Regions from separate parts of the Homo sapiens genome. Here regions 2 and 3 are each linked to region 1. The links are contacts of gene promoters, found by promoter capture Hi-C in human tissues and cell types (Jung and others, 2019). All regions are on one chromosome and are shown on one strand. The core of a region is centred on a gene start or on the middle of the fragment in contact, and the rest is flanking DNA. Distances in the headings are between cores, read along the strand shown. Region 1 holds the start of PI3 (peptidase inhibitor 3). Region 2 has its middle 9.7 kb from the start of WFDC11. Region 3 holds the start of WFDC6 (WAP four-disulfide core domain 6).

Region 1 (2,519 bases), core at 6-2,505:
GTTCTCCAGCTAGTGCTCACCTCACTGGGGAACGAAACAGGCCATCCCGCAAGAGCCTTCACAGCACTTCTTGATTCCTGGGCAGTCAGTATCTTTCAAGCAGCGGTTAGGGGGATTCAACATGGCGCACCGGATCAAGATAATGGGGCAGGAGCCAGGCTTAGTGGAGACTGGACCTTTGACTGGCTCTTGCGCTTTGACTTTATCTTGACCTTTAACTGAAACTTGTCCTTTAACGGGATCTTGTCCATTGAATGGAACACGGCCTTTGACAGTGTCTTGACCTTTAACAGGAACTGTTAAAAGAAGAAACGAGCCCACATTTATACCCAGTAAGCCTCTGCTTCAGCTGCCATGTCTTTCCTCTGGGTCTGGGTCCATCCACTGCTTACTGCAGCATCCTCAAACCATGGCCTGAGTAGGGAAGGTACACCTCTGGGAGCTACACTCTTGGAAGGCTCTTCCTTTTTTGGGGTGGTCTACTGGACCAGAGTTCCCTTGAGTATTTGTTTCTTCCCCCTTCCTCCACTCCAAGTCTCTCAGGAGCAGTGGTCAGACTGGGGTGACACCCAGCAGTGAAGAGGACACATTGTCATTTGTTAGGAAGTGCATTGGAGTAGGAAAGAACCCTGAGCCACATACTAGGAGACTTGAGCCCCATCCTGGCTCTGGGAATTACCTTGGCAATTGCTCACTCATTTCTACATTTTTGGTTCCCTCCTTATAAAATGGGGGTCCTCAAACAACATGATTCCTGAAGGCTTGTTGTTTCTTAACCTCCTTTTAGAGTACTGATTACTCCAGTGCTTTTATGGGGCAGAGAAACGGGGGACTGTGTCCACACCCAAGGTTTAAAATCCTGGAGTTCATTATTTTATTGCACATTCTGCACAGGTATTGACATCTGAGGCCAAGGCCACATACCAACATTACTTCCACAAACAGTCCTGATATCTCAGTCACTGAGGTGGAAAGCACGTGGAGTCCACCAGCCAAAGTCCTATTTTTTCTGAATATGATGGCAAAGAACAGAAAGCTGAAATCTGGGCTCCAGTGCTGCCTACTGCTTCAGAAGTGCTCCCTGTCCTGGCCCAGGGTGTCCCAGAGGGTCTCCCCTTAGTCCAACCCAGCCCAGCAGGTCACCTGTTCACTCACCTCCCGTGACAGCTGCCTCTAGAACCAGCGTCCCAGCGATGAGGAACACCACCACGATCAAGAAGCTGCTGGCCCTCATGGTGTCAGGAAGGTGTTTGGCTAAGAGCTAAGGCCATACCAATCTTTATGCAGTCCAGCTTGGCCTGGCTCCAGGGGCGGGTCTGTGGTATTTACAAGGGATAATTCCTTAGCTGTATTGGGAAATATCCACCCCATTCTGGGAGGGACCTGGGGGCTTTCCCTCAGGATTATTCACAGGAAGAACTAATGGACATTACATCACATCATCTCTGATTGTCCCAAGAGTTTTCCTACTTTCTCACAGAGTAGAAGTGCTGGCTCACTTATTAGGTAACATTACAATGAAATTCTTCATGTTTTGAAATACAGTGAGACCCAAGAAGAGAAAGGAATCACCGAAGGTTATTCAGCAAGTCACTGGTAGATCCAGTCTTGATTACAAAACCAAGGTGTTTCTCCATTATGCTCTGGTGCTACAAACCCCACCCAGATCTACTTTATCATTTTACCACTCCCAGCATCAAACTGGGCATTTCCTTCCTTCTTCCCTGGTCCTGCAAAAAACTCTGTAAGACAAATTTGCCTTGAATACATAATGACTAATTATTGCACTTTGCTGTTTCAGAGACGGCCTTTCAGATGCATCAAGAAAGTAATTGGAAGGTGGAATTCTAGGTCTGAAGAGGGATGATGCCCTTGAAATCACAGTGGTAGGGAGAAAATAATCAGAAAGTAGTAGAAAACATGTATCATGTATACATTGGACATCTACAGTGTGTGTGTCCAGCATGCCTCCCCACTTCTTTGAACAGCACCCTGTTTCTTGTGAAGAATTGTTGTCTCTTTGAACCATCAACTTGTGAGTCTAATGGGGACTGCTAATCATGAAAGCCTGACCCCTGACCACAGGTAGGGGTGTGTGTGTGTGTGTGTGTGTGTGAGTGTGTGTGTGTGTGTTGTGTGTGAGACTTGGTCTGGTCTATTAACATATTTTATTTGAATGAGTAATGAAAGGGGAAAACGGGGGTTCCTTCTTCTGGAAAAGGTGATATATATGAACCAGGGAATTCCAGAAGTGGTTATCTAAGTCTGGGGGTGGAGATCAATTGTCTGAGAAAAACGACTCTAATACACTGAGACAAGGAGAGAAGTGATGGTGAGAGAAGATTCAGATGACACAGCCAGGTTTCCCTCCTTTACCTTGAGAGCAGTTCTTCACACACCCTTCTCATGGTTGGGTTATGAGGCAATAAATTAGCCCTCTGCTTCAGCTAGTCTGACTTACTATTCTGTCATTGTTACCAAAAGTTCTGAGTAATAGAAATGAATATCCTGAAGTTGGG
Region 2 (2,519 bases), core at 14-2,513, 510 kb before region 1:
GTCTCAGCCTCCCAAGTAGCTGGGACTACAGGCATGCACCACCACATCTGGCTAATGTTCTGTATTTTTAGTGGAGACAGCGTTTCACCATGTTGGCCAGGCTGGTCTTGAACTCCTGACCTCAAGTGACCCACCCACTTCAGCCTCCCAAAGTACTGGGATTACAGGCTGAGCCATTGCACCCAGCCAAAAAGGTGGTTTTAAATGGACATAATAACACTGCCAGGGTCTACATCTCCTGGGAGCAGTGTAGAAAAGGGACTAGAATGCTGAGCTCCCATTTTCTCTTTGCAAGGGGTTTCCTGCTTACTCTATTGGTGGCTACTTGATGACCTTGCTTTTAATGAATTTGCATTGAGGACCTAAGGGGAGAAAGTAGCTCCCTGTCATCCTGAGCTTGAGCTGAGCACTTTCTGAGCCTTTCCTTTGGCTCATCCCAGTGATAAATCCAGTCGACCCATTCTTCCTGGAAGGAGTTTGTCCGTGTACTGAGTACCTAAGCTTCTATAGTTTCCACCCAAGGGACTGTCTCCTTATCAACCTAGCTCTGGGGACTAATGGGGCTTTGCATTCCCAATGAGACTTTGCATTCCTAAGCGGCCTGGGACTACAGAAAACAAAGACATGGGCATACAACGGGCCCACTTTCAGCATGTATTAGTCCATTCTCTCATTGCTATAAATAAATACTCAAGATTGCATAATTTATAAAGAAAAGAGGTTTAATTGGCTCATGGTTCTATGGGCTATACAGGAAGCATGGCACTATCTGCTTCTGAGGAGGCCTCAGGAGCTTTTACTCATGGCAGAAGACAAAGCCAGAGCAGGCATCTTCACATGGCTGGAGGAGGAGCGGGGTGAGGGATGTACTATATACTTTTAAACAACCACATCTCACTCACTATCATGAGAACAGCACCAAAGAGATGATGTTAAACCATTCATGAAGGATTTACCCCCGTGATCCAATCACCTCTCACCAGGTCCACCGCCAACATTGGGGATTACAACTTGACATGAGATTTGGATGGGGACACAGATTCTAACCATATCAAGCAGCTATCTCACCAGGATCAGAGGGTGCAGTTTGGACACAAGTATAGGCATTTGTCACAGATTATCTCTCCAGCTTAGTGCAGAGAGAGGGAGAGATAAATACTGGCATTCACCTTCACCATAGGATGGAAGAAACCAGAATACTCACCACCCTCCCCCTGCCATACATGCAAAAAGACAGAGAAAGTTTTAAAAACAGTGAGGAAATAGTGAATTGCTACACACAAGAGAACCCTCCCTTAGATTATCAGCAGATTTCTCAGCAGAAACTTTGTAGGCCAGAAGGGGGTGGGATGTTATATTAAAAATCCTGAATAAAACAACCCTGTCAACCAAGAATACTATACCCAGAAATCTTTTCTTTCAAAAATGAAGGGGTGATAAAGACTTTCTCAGACAAACAGAAGCTGAGAGAGTTTATTACTACTAGACTTGCCTTACAAGAAGTGCTAAAGAGAGTTCTTCAAGCTGAAGAAGAGGACACTAATTAGTGACTGGAAAACATATGAAAGTATAACATTCACTGATAAAAGTAAATACATTGTGAAATCCAAAATACTCTGATACTGTAATGTCAGTGGGTAAATAAATTATATCTTTAATAACATTAAAAGGCAAAGCTATTAAAAACAATGAAACCTACAATAATTTGTCAAGGGATACAAATTATAAAAAGATGCAGATTGTGATATCAAAAACTTAAGACAAATTTTCTCTTCTCTGAGGCTAGCTTGACTTCTCTTTGTTCTGCGTTCCACTGTTACCTAAAGAGTGTCCTTAGTGCCTGCCTCACAGCCCAGCACAAGGATATGAGCTGCAGAGAGTGACAATACAAGAAAGGCTACTCTGTGGATATGTCTCTGGTGCAAGAGCTGGTTTGCCCTGTCCTGGAGAATTTTCCCAGGATGGGGAAAGCCATGTGCTTCTTAATCCATCCCTGATACCTCAGGACTAAACTGGGAAGTGATGTCAGCAAGATGGCAGAATAGATCTCCTGGGATCACTTCCTGACACAAAAATAAAATGAAAAACTATTCAAAGACAAGAATGCCACCCTGAATACACCAGAACTTGAGAAGCAGAGAAACCCCCTGGGCTCATAGAATTGAGAGAAGCAGTGACAGGTAAGAGAAATGGTCATTTCAGCCTGTTCCACCCTCTCTCCCAGGCCATAATAATACCACTCACAGAGAACTTCCCTAGACCCACAGTTGCTGAGATGAGAAGAAGGAATTGGAGGTGGATATTTGATCTTCCCACTTGTCTAGGAATCTTAATGGTAAGTCCACTCCAGTTTCATCCCACTAGAGAACCAAGAGGGCTGAAAAACCTGGGGTGAATTGGGGACAAAGAGTAGGTCACTGATTGCAGCAACTGGCATGTGGATCTTGGTGATTGTTCAGTGCTTTGATCAGTGGGGATGCCATATTGAAGAGACTGGTGGGGGGGCCAGAGTATTGTAG
Region 3 (2,519 bases), core at 11-2,510, 360 kb before region 1:
CTGACTGGCATGAGATGGTATCTCATTGTGGTTTTGATTTGCATTTCTCTGATGATCACTGGTGTTGAGCTTTTTTTCATATGTTTGTTGGCCGCATAAATGTCTTCTTTTGAGAAGTGTCTGTTCATGTCCTTTGCCCACTTTTCAATGGGGTTGTTTGTTTTTTTTCTTGTAAATTTGTTTAAGTTCCTTGTAGATTCTGGATATCAGACCACAAATTTTCTTAATCTGTCTCCAGTGATGGGAAAGCTAAGCTATTTGTCCACTGATTCCCAACGCCCACTGGATGCCAGGGATACTAAATCCCTCGCTCTTTCAAACTGTTATACTTGCAAGCTATACAAGCTCCCTGGGGGCCAGAGAAAACCCACAGCAGAAAATTAGGGACTGATGCTAGAGGTAGGAGGCTGTCAATGTGCATTGGCTATTATTCGGCCATAAAAAGGAATGAACTTCTCACTCACCACTGATGACATGCCTTGCTGCACACACACCCTGCTGCCACCCTGCAGAAATGCTTCCATTACCCACAGTCCTTTGCCAGATGGAACTGATGCCCAGGTAACTGGCTCCTCACCTCCTTCGGGCTTATACCAAGGATATAAAACTTGGTACAGATGCTCAAGCGTTAATGCTTCAGGGTGTGACTTTTAATCCAATGCTGTAGCTGTGACAACAGGGAAAAACGGAGAACAGAGTTGGAGAAGTCCCAAAGTAATGAAAGAAGTTATTTACTGTTGCAAAATCAAACGACTTAAAGGATAAATGTAACTGATCTTTACATACGAAAGAAGAGAGAGGGAAGTGAAGGGCGGGGAGAAAGAGACTCAGACAGACAGAGACTCCCTGAGAAAAAGACAGGCACAGAGTAAAAGACATACAGATGCACAGAAAAGAGAAGAAACAGAGTGAGAAAAATAAAACATAAGAATAGACATGTCAGGAGAAGAGTGAAATTAGAAAGAAGGAAGAGAGCTAGCATACTGTTAACCTGCAAACTCCCCCTGGGAAATGGAAGACTCTGGAGTTAAACCTCCCCTTCTGCTAAGGGAGCCTGGAAAGCCCAAGACAACATGTGCCCTCTTTCCCTGGTAGACCAGAAAGCCTCAGATTGCTGAGGATTAGGAGCCACCTATCCCCCAGTGTAGGTACCAGGTAGTCCCACTGATGGCCTCAGGGATCTGGTGTTCCTGATCGGGGAGTCTGGCTGGCTTGTCTCCAGGGCTGTCTCTTAAGGTGCTGGGCCACACCGGGGCAGGCAAAGTGCAGATGTAGGAGCTGCTGAGGAGCAGTTCTTAGTTTTGGTGCCATCAACCAGGCCAGTACTTCCTAAAATGGGACTCTCAGGACTTCTGCCAATCCTGGTACCATTCATCCTTTTGGGGGACATCCAGGAACCTGGGCACGCTGAAGGCATCCTTGGCAGTAAGTATTGGGAACTCCGTCCTTGCAATGGGGAAAGGAAACTCAGTGGGGAGGAAGGAACAAAGAATAATTTTGCAGCTGAGAAATTATTTTCTCCACCTCTGCCTGGAATTCCAGGTGGGAAAGAGGGGAGCTATTTGAAGTCTCTTGGTAAGAGACTCCCTTGGTGAATACAGGCATCCAAATCTGTGGCAAGTGACTCCTTGCTGCCATTCCAAAGAGTTCTTCCTGGAGGTGCCTGGACCTAGAGCTCATGAAATGAACTAAGAAGGAGTAGTAAGCCCAAGGAAGTCTCCCACAAGAAAAACAGGCTGCTCCCCACAACACCACCTGTGTCAACTTCCAAATGTTCTCATTGCAGCCCCCACACCCATACCCACAGAGGACCCTGGTCTTTGGGTTAAAGAATGGTCTCCAGAAGTCCCTTGGAATGCTGAAATGTGAAGACTCACAATTAGCAGCTAACTGTACTGGGCACTGAAAATTAGTGGTTGAAAGTGAGCACTCAGGAGCCACACATTGTAGGTTCAAACCTGGCTCCACCCCTGAGTAGCTGTGTGATCTTGGGCAAATTCACATAATCTCCTTATGCTTCCAATTCTTCTGTTTACAAAATGTGAATATTAAGAGTACTTACCCATAGATTTGTAATGAGGATTAAGGAGAAAAGGCAGCTCACAGTAAGTGCTTCATCCATATTACTCATTGTTACGTTACATTGCCCCAGGCAGTTTGACGATGGCTTGTCAAACTGTGTTGCTGGTTAGTCTTCAAAGCAACCCTATGGGCAAATGAGGAAATCAAGGCTCAGAGAGAGTGCCTGGCACACCAAGCGTCTCACAGAATTCAAAAGCCCAGCTATCTGATGCCAGAAATGTTAATCTCAATCATCGAGAGCCACAGCACCTCCTGGGGGAGCAACCAAGCACAGCAAGGCTGAGTGACCAGAACAGTCTTAGAGGAATGCGTCTTTCTCTCAGGAATCTCATAGATGGTGCGGGTAGGGGGTAGGGGTTGGTTTAGGCATCCGATGGTGAGTTGTTATGGGGTTGGGGATGTGAGCAGTGTTGTGAAATTCCTGAGCCCCCTGAGGG

The links. Contacts are between HindIII fragments. The study calls those that stand out against the background at their distance.
Region 2: a fragment that was not itself captured here is called in contact with the fragment with the promoter of PI3 in region 1 in 2 of the 25 tissues and cell types used here (dorsolateral prefrontal cortex and spleen).
Region 3: the fragment with the promoter of WFDC6 here is called in contact with the fragment with the promoter of PI3 in region 1 in 2 of the 25 tissues and cell types used here (mesenchymal stem cells and stomach).

Annotation. Positions count from the first base shown.
Region 1 is chr20:45,173,638-45,176,156 of GRCh38, reverse strand. PI3 (peptidase inhibitor 3) reads right to left here and starts at 1,255. Exons shown (of 3, transcript NM_002638.4): 1 at 1,156-1,255; 2 at 21-296. The coding sequence starts at 1,234. The coding sequence ends at 22. RefSeq lists an enhancer at 466-1,665. The HindIII fragment of the contact is 10,589 bases long and covers 1-2,519 here.
Region 2 is chr20:45,678,698-45,681,216 of GRCh38, reverse strand. No RefSeq gene overlaps it. Among named protein-coding and RNA genes, the nearest start is that of WFDC11, 9.7 kb to the right of the region's middle. The HindIII fragment of the contact is 5,827 bases long and covers 1-2,519 here.
Region 3 is chr20:45,538,223-45,540,741 of GRCh38, reverse strand. It overlaps WFDC6 (WAP four-disulfide core domain 6), which reads left to right and starts at 1,260. Exons shown (of 3, transcript NM_080827.2): 1 at 1,260-1,425. The coding sequence starts at 1,335. All of the region lies in intron 3 of EPPIN-WFDC6 (EPPIN-WFDC6 readthrough), which reads left to right. EPPIN (epididymal peptidase inhibitor) reads left to right here. Exons shown (of 4, transcript NM_020398.4): 4 at 1-116. LOC107987282 (a long non-coding RNA gene) reads right to left here. Exons shown (of 4, transcript XR_001754641.3): 3 at 2,063-2,206; 4 at 355-667. It also overlaps the pseudogene HSPD1P21. The HindIII fragment of the contact is 28,992 bases long and covers 1-2,519 here.